2 separate regions of the Homo sapiens genome follow, and region 2 is linked to region 1. The links are contacts of gene promoters, found by promoter capture Hi-C in blood cells and fetal thymus (Javierre and others, 2016). All regions are on one chromosome and are shown on one strand. The core of a region is centred on a gene start or on the middle of the fragment in contact, and the rest is flanking DNA. Distances in the headings are between cores, read along the strand shown. Region 1 holds the start of MXD4 (MAX dimerization protein 4). Region 2 overlaps CFAP99 (cilia and flagella associated protein 99).

The links. The method cuts DNA at HindIII sites, captures the fragments that hold promoters and counts their contacts. A CHiCAGO score of 5 or more calls a contact.
Region 2: a contact is called between a fragment that was not itself captured here and the fragment with the promoter of MXD4 in region 1, in 2 of 17 cell types (endothelial precursors and M1 macrophages). The highest score is 5.3, in endothelial precursors.

Annotation. Positions count from the first base shown.
Region 1 is chr4:2,259,325-2,266,920 of GRCh38, forward strand. It overlaps MXD4 (MAX dimerization protein 4), which reads right to left and starts at 2,785. Exons shown (of 6, transcript NM_006454.3): 1 at 2,593-2,785; 2 at 2,401-2,500. The coding sequence starts at 2,656. RefSeq lists enhancers at 1,312-1,904, 3,136-3,797, 3,798-4,457, silencers at 2,005-2,064, 2,075-2,464, 2,555-2,614, 2,665-3,504 and a cis regulatory region at 7,546-7,596. The HindIII fragment of the contact is 4,464 bases long and covers 1-4,292 here.
Region 2 is chr4:2,448,181-2,455,776 of GRCh38, forward strand. It overlaps CFAP99 (cilia and flagella associated protein 99), which reads left to right. Exons shown (of 16, transcript NM_001193282.4): 7 at 1,490-1,570; 8 at 1,754-1,825; 9 at 2,767-2,838; 10 at 3,084-3,172; 11 at 3,962-4,166. Among named protein-coding and RNA genes, the nearest start is that of RNF4, 17 kb to the right of the region's middle. The HindIII fragment of the contact is 1,576 bases long and covers 4,084-5,659 here.

The DNA of each region.
Region 1 (7,596 bases), core at 1,535-4,034:
TTGGTCACATGGGCTGGACAAGGAGCCTCCGAATCACTGCCAGGGCCAGCCAGGGCCGACCAGGGCCAGCAGAGGCCACAGCCATATGCTCCTCACTGGCCTCACAGAGATAGGCCCCTACGCCAGCGTTTCTGCTTCCCCAGAATAGGCAGGCCGCAGGAATGAGCCGTACTCTCTGTCCTCAGCCCAAACTGCAGCCTGGCCACGTGGGTCTGTAGTCAAGAGGGAGGTCGGGGTCAGCAGGTGCCCTTCAACATAAAAGCCTACCTGCCTACCCCTTGAAGGGTGGCACGGGGCTGGACCCCACCCTGGAGGCAGGGGGCCCTCCTCCAGCAGCCAGGGCCCCTCTTGCAGCTCCTCCTGGGCCCAGAGACCCTTGGGGTCCATCGAGGGGGATGTTTGCAACATGGGTCCCAGGAGCACTCTATCCCTCAGGAGAGGTGGGACCTGTCCCCGCTGAGGCCAGGCCAAGTGCGTTCCCAGCATTCCCGTGACCCCAGGAGACAAGCACACTTCCCACAGAATGGACCCCCCTGCAGGCTGGCCCCAGTGCTCTGCCGCCTCCCTCAACCCTGACACTGTCCTCCGGCCCCACTCCCTACCCTTGCCCCAGCCTCACTGTGCCATGTCCCCTCCCTCACCTTGGCAGAGCATGGAAGCCTCACAGGTGGGGACAAGTCAGGGGCTCAGAGATCCTCTGGCCCCCTGCTCCGCCCAGCTACTTGTCTGGGCTGGCTGAGGAAACCTCCAGGGCAGTGCTGCCCACCCGAGGAAGGGGCCAAGCCGCCAGCCCTGGGCTGCCTCAGGCCCCGGGGGAGCGGGGCTCGGCCCAGAGGAGCCAGGGGAGATGCACCAGAGTTGGGGAGCCCTCTGTCTCCCTCACCAGTGCCCCCATGGTCTCTGTCCCAGCAGAATGTGGACAGCTGGGACCCCATCTCAGGAACAGGCGTCATCAGAGATGGGTGAGTGGCAGGCAAGTAACCAAACCTCTCCTTGCCTCAGTTTCCTTGGCCATAGAGATAAAAATCACATCACCTCTCTGAGCCTGGGGTGAAGATGAACTGGCTGCATGTGTGAAACGCTCAGCATAGAGGCAGTGTTCGGGCAGCCTTGGCCAGGACGCTGGTTGTCAGCTTTGGATTCTCCATGCTGGGGGAGCCCCAGCTCACGCCCCAGAGTTCTCCACGGGTCAGGGACTTGGTTTGGAGAGAAGCGGCAGCGGGGGCCGGGCTTGCTCACTGAGGAGGCCTGAGGCAATGGTTCCCTCGTCACACTCCTGTCCTTCCCCAAACTGTCCCCAGTAGGGGACCAGGGGCTGGGACTCAGGGACGGGTCCCAGCCAGGGCAGCTGGAGACTCAACCAATTCCTCGCCTGGCTCAGGATGCCACAGAAATGGGTCCCTACACCAGCCTTTCGGATTCCCTAGAACAGGTGGACCACAGGAATGAGCCATGCCCTGGGGCTCTGAAGCCCCCTACAAACGCAGCTCCCAGCCTGCTCACACAAAAGGGCTGGGCCAAGGTGGGCCCAGACAGGACCAGGTGTGCTATGGTCCTCACAGCAGCCAGGAGGGTGGAAATCCCCGGGGAGCCCCGGCCCAGGGTCCCCACTCCCCACGCGGGGGACCTGTACGCACCCCAGCTTCAGGGCTTCTGCTGCCTGAACACGAGGTCAAGGTATGGAGGGCGCAGCTGGCACCCGTAGTAACGACTTCATGGGGCCCCTGCCCTGCAGCCTGCCCCCTCCTCCCGCCCCCTTAAAAGGCCTCTGTCTTAAAAAAGAGGACCCCCATACTGGTGGCTGGAGTTTCGCTGTGTCAGGAGGCTGGGCAGAAGCGGTGGGCACCCTGGGAGGAGTGAGGGCCCAGGACAGCGCCTCCACTCGCTTCTCTGTCTAGGCTCCTGGGGGCGGGGGAAGGTGGCCGAGCAGCAGAGTTCGGCTGGCAGAGCCAGTCGAAAGGAGGCCGCCCACCCACCCGCGGAGAGAAGGGGTTAGGGCCGGCAGCCCCCGCAGACCCTGGCTGAGCCTGTTTCCCCAGACCCACGGGGCACCGGCCAGCGCCCGCTGACAACTTTTCTACCGCCTGGAAAAGTCCAGAACAACTCGGGGGCGGGGAGCGGGCGCGGGAGCGGACCCCGGCGGCGGGCGCTGTACGCGTGGCACTGTTTACGCGAGCGGCCCGGGAGGCGCGGCCGCGGGAAGATGGCGACGGCGAGGGCGGGGCCGGCCGGGCGGGGCTGCGGCCGCGGCCTGCGCGCCTCCTCCTCCAGGCTGGCCGCCGGGGCGCGCGGCGGCGGCGCTGAGGGCCGCGGGCCGGGAATCGGGGCCCGGAGAGCACGCTCCGGGCGGGGGCGGGGGTTCGGACCGGGCCGGGCGGGGTCGGGAGCGGGGGGCGGTACCTGTTGTTCGGGGCCTTGCGCACCAGGCCGGCCGCCTTTGTTTTCTCCCTGGCGAAGTCGCCGTCGAAGGGCAGCACCGAGGCGTAGCCGTGCTCGGCCTCTGCGGACACACGGCGCGGTCAGCGGCCCCCGCCCGGCACGGCCCCGCCGCCCGCCCACCGCCGCGGGCGCACAATGGGGTGCGAGCGCTACCTCGATCCCTGCGCTCCAGGTACTCGGCCGCCTCCAGCAGGATCAGCAGGGAGTTCAGCTCCATCCTCCCGCCCGCGCCCGTCCGCCCCGGGACGGCGGCGGCCGCTGCCCGGCCCGCTCCGGCCGGCTCCGCTCGCCGCCCACCCCGCGCGCCCGGCCGCCGCACTTCCAGACTCCGCGGACTCCGGCGCTCGGCCGCCACCCTCCGCCTCAGGCCCTCAAATTGACACATAAGGGAGAGCGGCGGCCCGCAGAGCCAATGGGAGGCGGCGTTCGCGCCCCGGGGGCGGGCGCCGGGCCGGGCTGGGGCCAATGGGGACGGGTCGAGCGCCTCGGGCCGGGCCGAGAATGTTGACAGATGCAGAGCTGGGCTGGGATAGGCCGGCCGCGCTAGTAACAATTTAGAAGCCCGAGCTTAGCAACAGCACGTGGTGGCCCGGCCCCCGCGCTAGCTGACTGGCGGCCGCCGTGCATGTTAAGTAGGCGCCGCGCGCCGATTGGCCAGAGCGGCCTATGTAAAACAGGCACTGCGAGCCAATGGCCGGTGGCGGGGCGCGCGGCCAATGAGGGCGCCGCAGCCGGACGCGTTGCCGAGAGGAAGCGCAGCGCGCGGGGACCGCCCGCCGTCCTGGGGGCCCGTTAGGACGCAGGAGCGTCTCCGCTACGAGAGCGAAGCAGGGCGCTCCGGGGCGTGCGCCGGGCCGGGCCGGGCCGCCGGGTCTGAGCGCGACGAAAGCAGTGGCTGCGTGGGGGGACGAGGCCTCGCGCTCTGCCCGGGGGTCTTGCGTGGGGCCGTGAACGACTCCCCTCCCCGCCGGGCGCAGAGTGGCCCCGGGAAGGGCCGGGACCTCGGAGAGGGACGCAGACGCTCTGATCCTAAGAGCCAGGCGTCTCTGAGGGTGTCAGTGGGGAAACAGGCCCAGAGCGGGCGGGCTCCTCAGATCGCCCAGTGGACGCCGGAGCTGAGGGAGGGCCCAGGTCTGGGGAAGGGACACAGACGTGCGGCCAGAGTCGAGAGGCTCCCCGGAGTGGGGGGCTGCATGCTCTGTGTCTGGCCTGAGGGGCAGGGACGTTCCTAGAGGCAGGCGCTGGCCACCTCTGGCCGAGGACGCCCTAAGTGGGGACGGGAGTGAACCCTTCATCAAATCCCAGCTGGCGGGTCTCCCTAGTGACCCCTGACCCTAAGGCTGGCCCAGACTGGCCTCGGCACCCCCCACCCTCTCGCAGATTTTTTTTTTTTTTTTTTTTGAGACGGCTCTGTTGCCCAGGCTGGAATGCAGTGGCGTGATGTCAGTTCACTGCAACCTCCGCCTCCCGGGTTCAAGCGATTCCCCTGCCTCAGCCTCCCAAGTAGCTGGGACTACAGGCGCGTGCCACCACGCCCAGCTAATTTTTGTATTTTTAGTAGAGATGGGGTTTCACCATGGATGGTCTGGATCTCCTGACCTCGTGATCCGCCCGCCTCGGCCTCCCAAAGTTCTGGGATTACAGGTGTGAGCCACCTCGCCCGACCCATCTCACTGATTTGATTTTTGAGGTTGGTGGCCTGGATGTGCCAAGGGCCAGGCCCCGCAGGCTGGAGAGTGTGGAGGCATAAGGTGGCTGGACCCCTCCAGAAGTACTCAGTGGGACACAGGGGCTGCTGCTGGCAATGAAACTGAACAAAAAATGCAAAACCTCAGCACCAGGACTCCTGTGAAAGCTTCGTGTGCATCTCCCTGTGTTTTGCATGCCCGGCTTGCAGATCAGGACATGGGACTAGACGCTCAGGGATTTGCTGGGGTCTCCCAGAAATCTCAGCAGAATGGAGATTAGTGCTGCCACACACGGCTCAGGGCTATAGGAATGCAGAGGCCAGAGCCTCCTGGCCTGGCTGGTCCTGCTGGGTGTAAGCCTGTGGTGTGGGCTTCAGAATAATGTGTGTTCCCACAGAGCCCTGCAGGACCCAGTGGGGAACTCGGACACTGCTATGAGACAGCCCTGCATGGACATTGAGACAACCCCCTTGATGTTAGCAGGGGCCCTTCCTGTTCCCGCCCCACAGTGACGCCAGGGCCCAAGGCAGAGCCCCTCACAAGAACTCAGCACTGAGGCCCTCCAGGTTTGTCTGCATGGCTGCTCAGAGCTGTGCATGGTAAAGAAAGGTGCCCAAGTCTGGGGAGGAGCAGGGTGTGTTTGGGCTCTGGGGACCCAGCTCTCCACTTGGGGATGAGCATTTTGCAAAGTTGCCCCATCCCTGCTTTGGCCACTGGGTGAGTTGCTGCCGACAGCTAAAGCGGACACCTGGCCTAGTACAAGTGCACCTGCTGGGCATAGTGCACGCCCCCTTCCTGCCATGGGCCAAGAGATTTGTTCTGTGTGGCAGTGGGCAGCACAGGTGCGCAGGTGTGTCTATGGGGAGGCACCTGCATGCTACCCCAGTCTAAGAGATTTTTAGCCTCAATTTAGGCCATTTAAGGACTCACCCTCACCTCCCCACCACACTGAGGACCAAGCACTTCCCTGGTGTCCCTGGGCTCAAACCTTGCCTGGTAGTGTGGGCACCACTGCCTGGGGGAGCAGGAAGGAGTTGGGGTTGGGAGGAGAAGCTGCAGGAGGCGATGGATGACTGAGGGCTGAGCTGCAGCTAGGGAGGGAGGTACTGGAGGCATCGGCCAGCAATGGCAGGAGGAGAGGGAAGGGGAGGGAGCAGCCAGGAGAGGCCTGGAGGTGATGTTGGCCTGGCCCAGATGGCTGCAGGTGGGCCTGGAGCCCTGCCAGGAGAGGTCTGGAGCCCCTGGGGGATAGGGGCACTGGTCCCACCTGCAGTTGGCAGGGTCTCTACACCCACGGGTCTCAACTTGTCCTTCCCAAGATGGGCAGAGGCATCTTGGGTCAGTGCCGGCAGGCACCAGTGCCCATGGAGTCTCAGGGGTGGTTGAGGAGTGGGGAGGACGTGGCTCAGGTCAGCCAGTTGGACCCAAGCCCTGCAGGGCATGGGCCATGTCCCCTTCTGTAGGGCAGGTCCCCCGCAGGGTGTGGCATCTCCAGGGAGCTTTCCATGGGCACAAGCTCCTGCCCAGCCCTGCCCTGCCCTTCCCCAGAGCCAGGACCTGTCCAATGGGCACCAATGAAAGCTAGGAGGGAGGGGGCAGACATCTCCAGCCTCCTTCCCTGGGGAGCCCAGTCCCCCCACCCTACTCTGGGAGGACCTCTCTATGCCACTCTGGGACCCCCAGGGTGCATCTCATTCCTGCCCCATCCTCTGAGCCCCACCCAGCCTTACATTCTCCTTGGGTTGTTCGCCCTCTGTCTCCTTTCCCTCACGACGGCCCTCCCCAGCCCACCCCAGGCAGGGGCTCCCAGGGAAGGGACAGGGCCTGCATGCAGAAGGGCTTCCCCGGTTTTGGGTGGAAGGCCACGGCAGGCTTGTCTTCCGCTGCCTGGATTTCCTGAGTTATCTTGCCCCATCTGCCACAGCCTCAGCTTCCCTGGCTGTGAACGGGGCTGGCAGTGCTGCCTCTTGGGACATATGGAGGACGGAATAGGAATAAAGGATTCCTGGTTTGGCTTGGGAAAGGCTACTGGGCTGACTCCCCACCCGCAGGATCTGTGAGAGTATCTAAGGCCAGCCCCAAAGAGACCTCCAGAAGACAGCTTCCTGGCCTTCCTGCGCCCACTGGGCCCCAACTTCCTTTCACTGGACTCAGGATCCACAAACTCCTCATGGCCACCACACACACATGACTTCTCGGGGTATCTGAGTCTCGGCAGAGCCTCAGGGAGCACCCCTCACACACCCAGGGAGGGAAGGTTGGTGAGGCCCCGGCAGCTGCAGAGCCTCTTTCCCACACTTCCAGGCTGACCAGGCCCTGATCCCCAAACTTGGCCACTGACACCCTGCCCCTCCCACCTTGGGCCTCCTGTCACTGGGTGGGCTGCCAGCAGCCCCCAGGTCCCCTGCACCAGCATTCAGGGCGGGAGGCTGCCCTGCCTCCACTCCGTCAGAATCCTGCAGCACAGTCCCCATCTCCACAGCCCTGAGGGGTGGCAGGTTCTAGGTCAGTGGGGTGGCCCGGGTCAGGGCTGGAGAGCTGTGACCAGCTCAGCACGCACCCAGTCCCCCGAGGCCTTGGCTCCCCTGCACCAAGAGGCCTGGTTGTGTCCCGGCACCAGGGGGAGTCCCTATGGTGCCTCTCCTTGAAGCCACCCTGGATTCTAGTCCTGTCAGCTTCCCTGGGCCTGTTTCCTGGGCTGTAAAATCGGGGGTGACAGTACTTGCCTCTTGGGTGGTTGGGGTGTGTCATGAAGGATGCATGCAAAGCCCTGCACAGCAGTGGGCTGGGCACTAAGGGGTGCCCAGGAAGTGCCAGGAATGTGAACATCAGCTCCAAATCAGCAAGAGCCTCCAACCCCTCGGCCCTGCCCACAGAGAGACAGGGCTTAGGAGAGACAGGGCCTGCCCAGTCTCAGCCGGTCAGTAGCAGAGTCTCGCTGAGAACCTGGGTGGAGCTTTGGCTGCCCGGCTGGCCAGCCACGGGCCCCAGGCCAGGCCTCTTGGGGGCCTTCCAAAAAGTTTGACACTCAGGAAAACACTGTCTCCAGAATACGAAAAGAAGACGGCACAATCAAAATGCATGGAGATGTAATTAAATGTTTATATAACCAAACATAATGTCAGCGTTATTTTTAAATTTAAAATCAGATAATTCTATTTGTGAACAATTGGTGGGGTAGATTTTTTTTCTCACTTTAAAAGGTTTTCCCAGCATGCAGAAGACCCCCAGACAACTCAGACAACTATAAGTTAAATGAATTTCCTATGGCCCAAAATGTCCAAAAGCAAAAGAGGAAATTTTCCTTTCAAACACTTTTACAAGAGAAAAACAAGTTTATGAAAGAGGCCGTGGCTGCAGATTCAAGGCACTTGCTGTGGTGTCTGGGGGTGGCCTTTAAAATTCGGAGGGCCAGGACCTCTGAAGCTGGACAGGCCCTGCCTGGCCCTGCTGCTGTTCCGGGACCCCC
Region 2 (7,596 bases), core at 3,622-6,121, 190 kb after region 1:
TTGCCCCATCTGTATAATCTTCAGCATTTCTGACCCCATCTCCTCAGGGCTCAGTGTGTTTGTCTCAGGTCATGCTGCCAACTTCATCTCTCTCTCTGTCTCTGCCAAGCACAGCCCCTGCCTGGGCCCTCACCATGTCCTCCCATGCTCTATAGCTGTGTGCCTCTCAGTACAATCTGTGAGATGTTTGTGGACATGTACCTTCTCTGCATCCACAGGGTGGCTGTGCTGAAACTATCCTCTACCCTCCCTGCCCTGCCCCATGCCTAAGACATCCTTCTGCTTCAGGGTTGAGGGCCCACTGTAATTCACTCATTCATTATCTCAGACAAAGGAGATAAGACGTGTTGGAGCGGTTGTGATTCTGGATTGTGTGGCCTAGAAAGGCCTCCCGAGAAATGCCATGGAGTAAAAAACCAGAAGTGAGCAAGTCGGCCATGGGGTGTCTCAGAGAACAGCATCCTGGGCAGGAGCAAGGTGCAGGCAAAGGCCCTGGGGCAGTGCCCACCCTCCCTCAAGTGTTTGAGGGTGGCCAGGAGGGGCTGGAGTGGAGTGAGGCAGGGAAGAGGGAAGGCGGGGTACCGGTCTGGTCACACATCCACTGGAGGGAGCAGAGACAGGACACATTGAGGCAGGCTGGCGCCAACACAGGGTCCCTCCAGCTGCCGTGGCCAAGGAGGGCAGTGAGAGGCAGTTCCTGGAGATGGCTTGAAGCAGGTGGGCAGGAGATGGATGTGGGTGTGAGAGACAGAGGTGACAAGGAGGACTCTGAGGCATGGGTGAGGAATGGACAGCGGTCGTGGTCAGTGAGGCTGAGGGAGGGCTCGTTTGAGGAAGATGAGGGTTTGAGGTTTGGACGAGTTGATTTTCCATGACTGTTAGATGTGCAGGGGAGAAGGCATGGAGTTAGGAGGGTAATACAGCAGTCTGGAGCTCAGGGATATCTAGGCCGGCCCCCTCCTGCTCCTTCATGGACACAGCTCCGGCCATATTATCGGAGCCTCCTGTGACTGGACTCGGGGATATGGTGCAGCCGCCCTGGCCTCTGCAGTGTCCCCTCCCGACAGCTTACTTTGCAGGGGTCCGTGATATTCTCCCAGCCTCTCCTGCCCAGGCAGCCATCTTCCGCCTGTCTCCCAGTGTCAAGGGAGCTGGCTGCCTCCCCCTCTTGCTCCTACCCACCCTGGCCATCCCATGCTGGCCGATGGTACGCCCTCAGTACTGCCGGCTCATGTCTTACCCCACCCACCCCATCCCAGGCCAAGCTCCAGACCCCACGCCAATGACCAGCCTGACCTCCTTCCCTTTACTGCCAACGCTGACCCACCAGCACCCGGTGGTGTTAGCTCCAGCCCTGTTTCTCCTCCAATGCAGGCCGCCACCACCCTCCCCTTCACCCACATCCACCAAGCTGTCAGCCCTGGCATTTCTAGGCCCCCTCCCACTCGCAGCTGCTGACCATAGGCTCTTCCTCCCACCACTTCAGCAGGTCCCCCAGAGCACCTACCAGCCACCCAAGGAGCAGCAGCAGCTGGAGACAGTCAAGAGGTACAACCGCCGAAAGGCCGAGGTGAGCTGTGTGCGACCCCTGCCTTCCTAGAGACCCCATATGAGGGATGTGTGAAGGGAAGGTGGGGTGGGGAGAGGGAAGAGGAGGCAAGAGGGGGAGGCTGGGTGGAAGTTCGTCCTCCCATGGCCTGGAGGACACTGGGCAGAGGCTGGTGGGACTGGAGCCGCTGTGTCACTGTGGCAGGAGCTGCTGCTGAGGGCAAACATCGAGGAACTGCGCTGCGCCATGCCCAGGTCCTGCAGGGAGCGAGTGCAGGTACCGCCCAGCTCTCTCAAGACCCATCATCGAGGTGCCATCTTCTCAAGCCATCAGAAAGTTCCTCCCAACGCCATCGCAGTGACCACTTATGTAGCCTTTTCCCACTGAGGGCCGGGGAGGGGCGGATTCCCAGTAGCACTGGGAAAGTGTGCCTTGAGCCCACTGCGATGTGGCCCCTAAGCAGGCGGGTGTAGACGCGCACCCACATCCCCCAGGAGGAAGCTCACGGGAAAGCACCTGCAGGTGCTGCCTCTGGGTATCTCCAGATGTTCCGTGACAAGCATTTCATGTCTCTGTAAGGAAAAAACAAACCCAGGTATGTTTGCCAATAAAGAAAAAGCAAGGTAATGACGACAGGAGAGACTGTGCCTGGCGGGGCTCACTCAGGAGCACGGCCCCGCTGGGTGGCAAGGGTCCCACCATGAGGGCAGGCCCGGGCTGGGCAGCCCATATGGTGCATGCCGCGGGGCTGCAATGACCGAGTGCTCAGAGGGGTGGCCTTTGCAGCCACTCCCCTCACTGCAGCTTGCGGTGCCCACCCTGGGATGTGTTGGCAAAGCAGCTGGCGGCTGGGCCGGGAGCAGACAGGCTCGGGGAGAGGCCATGGGGGCCAGCCAGACCCCAGCTCTGGGGGTGGCTGAGGAGAGGGCCACTGAGCCCTGAGGCCAAGTTGTCCTGACTGGGAAGCACTGTTCCCAGGCCCACAGGCCCTGCACCCTCCCTGTTCCAGCCTGGGTGGAACCACAGCAAGGCTTGGGGGGCATTGGAAGATAGAGACCCTGACCTGGCGTGGTGGTAGGGATGGGCAGCTGGGGGGAGGATGAAGAGGGGTGAGCCAGGCCTCCCCAGGGTGCTGGGCCAGCATCCACCTGGTATGTGTTTGGGGGCACCCAGCAGGCACAGGTGCCAGGCGGCCAGCTCTGCCCTGACTCCTGCAGGGCTCCAAGCAGCAGCTGCGGCTTCAGTTCCCACCCCGAATCCGAAAGACTCCGAAGCTGACCTTCTATAGGGTGAGGGGTGCTCCTGGATGGTCAGGCTGCTCTCCCTGGGCACCCACCCCTCCAGACCTTTTCTGCCCGTAGAGGCTCAGATGACCTGAGCTGGGGGACCTAGAGTCCCAAGGACGGCCCCACCCTGGGGGATAGGGAAGCACCTGGGCAGGGGGCAGGTGTGACGGGCATGAGGGCAGGATGGGCATTTGCTGCTCCCAAGGGTCTCCTCAAGCCCCCACCACAGCCAGTCCCCAATCCCGCAGCCTGACAACATCCTGGTCAAGCTGAACACCACAGCCATCCTGCGAGAAGGGGCCTTGTACCAGCGGCAGGTGGAGCAGGAGCTGCAGAGGTGAAGGGCGGCAGGCCCCCCCACCTGCCTTCCACGGCATCACCCTTGAGAGGAAAGGCTCAGAGGAGGGGCCTGGGGGCTGGGCAGCTCAGTGGAGAGGGACTCGGGGGTCACAACAGGCTGTGGTCCTGCAGCAACAGGGGCGACAAGCAGGACTGTGTCAGGGTCCCAGGTGCATCTTACAAAGATCATGCCGGCTCAGTGAGGGGCATGAATGGGGCTGGAGGGACTTAGCAAAGGCCCAACCCACACCAAACCTCCCTTGGGGTTACCTCCTCCCTGGACCCCTTCCTGATGCCCCCATCTCCTAGACCACCAGGGCTGCAAACCCCTGTGCTTACCCCATGCGGTGTGGTCGTGTCTTTCCTTGTCTGCAAGTCAGGCTGTGGGGGGAGCATGGGTGTCTGACCAGATGGTGGAGTGGACGCACAGATGGTGCACAGGGGCAAGGGTGGCCAGGCTAGCAGAGGACAGAAGGTTGATGGATGGACAGATGATGGACACAGGGTTGGTGGATGGACAGACAGTTGGACAGAGTGAGGGTAGACAAACAAGTGGATGAAGGGAGGGGTGGGTGGATGGGGCTGATGGGTGGACGCACAGAAAGGGGGACCAGGGGATGGGTGGACAGTGGGTCGGGGATAGGAGGAAGGGCAGGCCACGCAGCTGGGTGTCAGGAGTAGCAGCCCACGCCTGCGCAGCCACTGTCCCTCAGGAAAACCTGTGACCACCCAGCAGCCTCTGTCACGGGAGAAACCCCAAGCTGTGCTTCTGTCCCTCTTTGCCCAGGGTTGATAAGCTCGTGGATGGGGCTGGGGACTTCTCTGAGTTCTTCGAGTGGCAGAAGAAGATGCAGGCGAAGGACCGGGAGGAGCAGCTGGCTGCAAGCGAGTGCCGGCGGTTGCAAGGGAAGCTTAGCCATGAGGAGGCCGTCCTAGCCCGGCAGAGCCTCATGCAGGAGAACAAGCAGAGGGTGGAGCAGCAGAAGGAGCAGGTGGGTGCCATGCAGGGCAGCTGGGCATGGGGCAGCCAGCTGAACTGTGTGCCCACCGGGAGCTGCAGGGCCAGGGCTGGCAGTGGAGCTGAGTGTCCACAGCGCCCCCGTAGAAGCTACTGATGTGTTGGTCCTGGCTCCTCTTCCTCCTCGAAGGACACACTGCCTAGGTGGGCACGCTCAGCCTGTGTTCCCCGAGAGTGCCTGCTCCTTCCAGTGGGCCTCACAGTGGCCTGGACCAGCGGGGAGCCTCAGCCCCAGGAGGCCGGCCTGTATACTCTCTCCTGGGACGTATCCCTTTGCAGGCCTGCGGTCAGGGACTTGATCAAAGGTCACTCAGATTGCTTCTTTTGATAGTTTCATCTGTGTCTGTATTCAATTTTAAGGTTTGCCTTTTCTTTCCTTTTTACTTTTTTAAAAAAATATGAAGGCCAGGCCAGGCATGGTGGCTCACACCTATAATCCCAGCACTTTAGGAGGCCAAGGCCAGAAGATCACTTGAGCCTAGGAGTTCAAGATCAGCCTGAGCAACATAGCAAAATCCCGTCTCTGTAAAAAATACAAAAATTAGCCGGGCATGGTGGTGCGTGCCCGTAGTGCCACCTACTCGGGAGGCTGAGGTAGGAGGATCACGTGAGCCTGGAAGGTCAAGGTTGCAGTGAGCCGTGATCATGCCACTGCACTCCATCCTGGGCGACAGAGCGTAACTGTCTCAAAAACAAAACAAACAAACAAAAATGAAGTCTAAACAATATGAAAAGGTAGACTCAGAGAAGTCTCACCTCTTGTAAGTCTATAACTTACAACCCATTTCCACCTTCCTTTGTTGGTCCTTCCTTTCATTAATTTCTGGATTACCTTTCCCGTCTTTCGAAGCAAATAACACACTTGTATATACATAGTTTGTCCTTCCCTTTTTTGTTACATAAAAGGTCACACCTTGCTTTATCTGCAAAGAATAATGTGCAAGACTTTCACCTTTGCAGAGCTGGATTTTCAGGGTAAACTTCTAGAGGAAGTTATATTTCCAGATGTCACACCAAAGAGTAACTGGATACGCAGGAGTCCTTGCCGTTTGGGACGCGTGGTTTTACTAAATATGGCCAATCGTCTCCCTGGTACTTTTACCATCTTCACTCCACCAAAGTGTGAGAGGGGTCTGATCCGCATGCCCCGCCACAGAGTGTACCAGGCTGAATTCGTGAATTTGTGCCAATTTCATGGGTCAGAAATAGTATCTTGGTATAGTTCTGATTTGCATCTCATTTATTTATCAGTGAATTTGAGCAAATGTCCACATATACATATATAAATGATTTGTGTCTATTTCTGTGAACCGTCTGTCCATGTCTTTTGTCCATTTTCTATTGCACTTTTGACCTTCATTTCCCTGACTTTTTTTTTTTTTTTGGTTCTTTATTTATTTAACTTGACAAATGCAATTGAATATATTTGTGATATATAACATGATTTTTTTTTTTTTTTAAGATGGAAGCTTGCTCTGTCGCCCAGGCTGGAGTGCGGTGGTGTGATCTCAGCTCACTGCAACTTCCGCCTCCCGGGTTCAAGTGATTCTCCTGCCTCAGTCTCCTGAGTAGCTGGGACTACAGGCGAGCACCACCATGCATGGCTAATTTTTGTTTTTTGGTTTTTGGTTTTTTTTTCTTTTTGAGACAGAGTCTTGCTCTGTCGCCCGGGCTGGAGTGCAGTGGCATGATCATGGCTCACTGCAACCTCCACCTCCTGGGTTTAAGAAATTCTCTGCCTCAGCCTCCTGAATAGCTGGTATTATAGGCGCATGCCACAATGCCCAGCTATTTCTTTTTTTGTATTTGTAGTAGAGATGAGGTTTCACCATCTTGGTCAAGCTGGTCTTGAACTCCTGGCCTCGTGATCCACCCACCTCGGCCTCCCAAATTGCTGGGATTACAGGCATGAGCCACCGTGCCCGGCCTACTTTTTGTATTTTTAGTAGAGATGGGTTTTCACTGTGTTGGCCAGGCTGGTCTCAAACTCCTGACCTCAAGTGATCCACCTGTCTCAGCCTCCCAAAGTGCTGGGATTACAGGTGGAAGCCACCACGCCCGGCCTAACATGATCTTTTGGAATACAAATACATTGTGGAATGGCTAAATCAAGCTAATTAACATATGCATTATCTCACATACTTATTCCTGGTAAGAACACTTACAATCTACTCTCTTAGCAATTTTTCTTTTTTTGTTGTTTTTTTTCTTTTTTTTTTTTGTTTTTTTTTTTTTTTGGTTTTTGTTTTGTTTTTGTTTTTGTTTTTGAGACAGAGTCTCACTCTGTCACCCAGGCTGGAGTGCAGTGGGTTGATCTCAGCTCAGTGCAACCTCTGCCTCCCAGGGTCAGGCGGTTATCCTGCCTCAGCCTCCTGCGTAGCCGGGACCACAGATGCACACCACCATGTCTGGATAATTTTTGTATTTTTAGTAGAGACAAGGTTTCACCATGTTGGCCAGGCTGGTCTCAAACTCCTGACCTCAAGTGATCTGCCCACTTCAGCCTCCCAAAGTGCTGGGATTACAGGTGTGAGCCACCATGCCCGGCCACAGTTTTTCTTTTTTGAGACAGGGTCTCACTCTGTCGCCCAGGCTGGAGCGCAGTGGCATGATCTTGGCTCACTGCAACCTCTGCCTCTCAGGCTCAAACCATCCTCCCATCTCAGCCTCCCAAGCAGGTGAAACTGCAGGCGTGCACCACCTTTTTAGGAGAGACACAGTTTCGCCATGTTGCCCAGGCTGGTCTCTAACTCCGGGGCTCAAGTGATTCACCTGCCTCAGTCTCCCAAAATACTGGGATTACGGAAATGCGCCTCTGCGCCCAGCCTAATGTTCTTTATATGTTAGGAAAAATAATCCTTTATAATAGATTGTTGCAGATTGCTTTTTTTCCAGTTTGTCATTTGACTTTGTATATGAGGTTTATGATGGGTGTTTGCCATGCAAATATTCTTTTTATGTCTTCAAATTTAACAGTCTTTTCTTGTGTTGTGTTTGGAGTTAGAAAATGCCACTCTTGGCTGGGTGTGGTGGCTCACGCCTGTAATCTCAGCACTTTGGGAGGCCAAAGCAGGGCGATCACCTGAGGTCAGGCATTCAAGACCAGCCTGGCCAACATGGTGAAACCCCATGTCTACTAAAAAAACAAACAAACAAACAAACAAAAATTAGCTGGGTGTGGTGGCACACCCACGTAATCCCACCAACTCAGGAGGCTGAGGCATGAGAATCGCTTGAACCCAGGAGGTGGAGGTTGCAGTGAGCCAACATCATGCTATTGCATTCCAGCTTGGGTGACAGAGTGAGACCGTCTCAAATAAAAAAAAGAAAATGCCGCTCTCCTCACACCAGGTTACACAGGGATTCTCAGTCTTCTCTACTGGTCTAAGGATGTCTAGCTACAT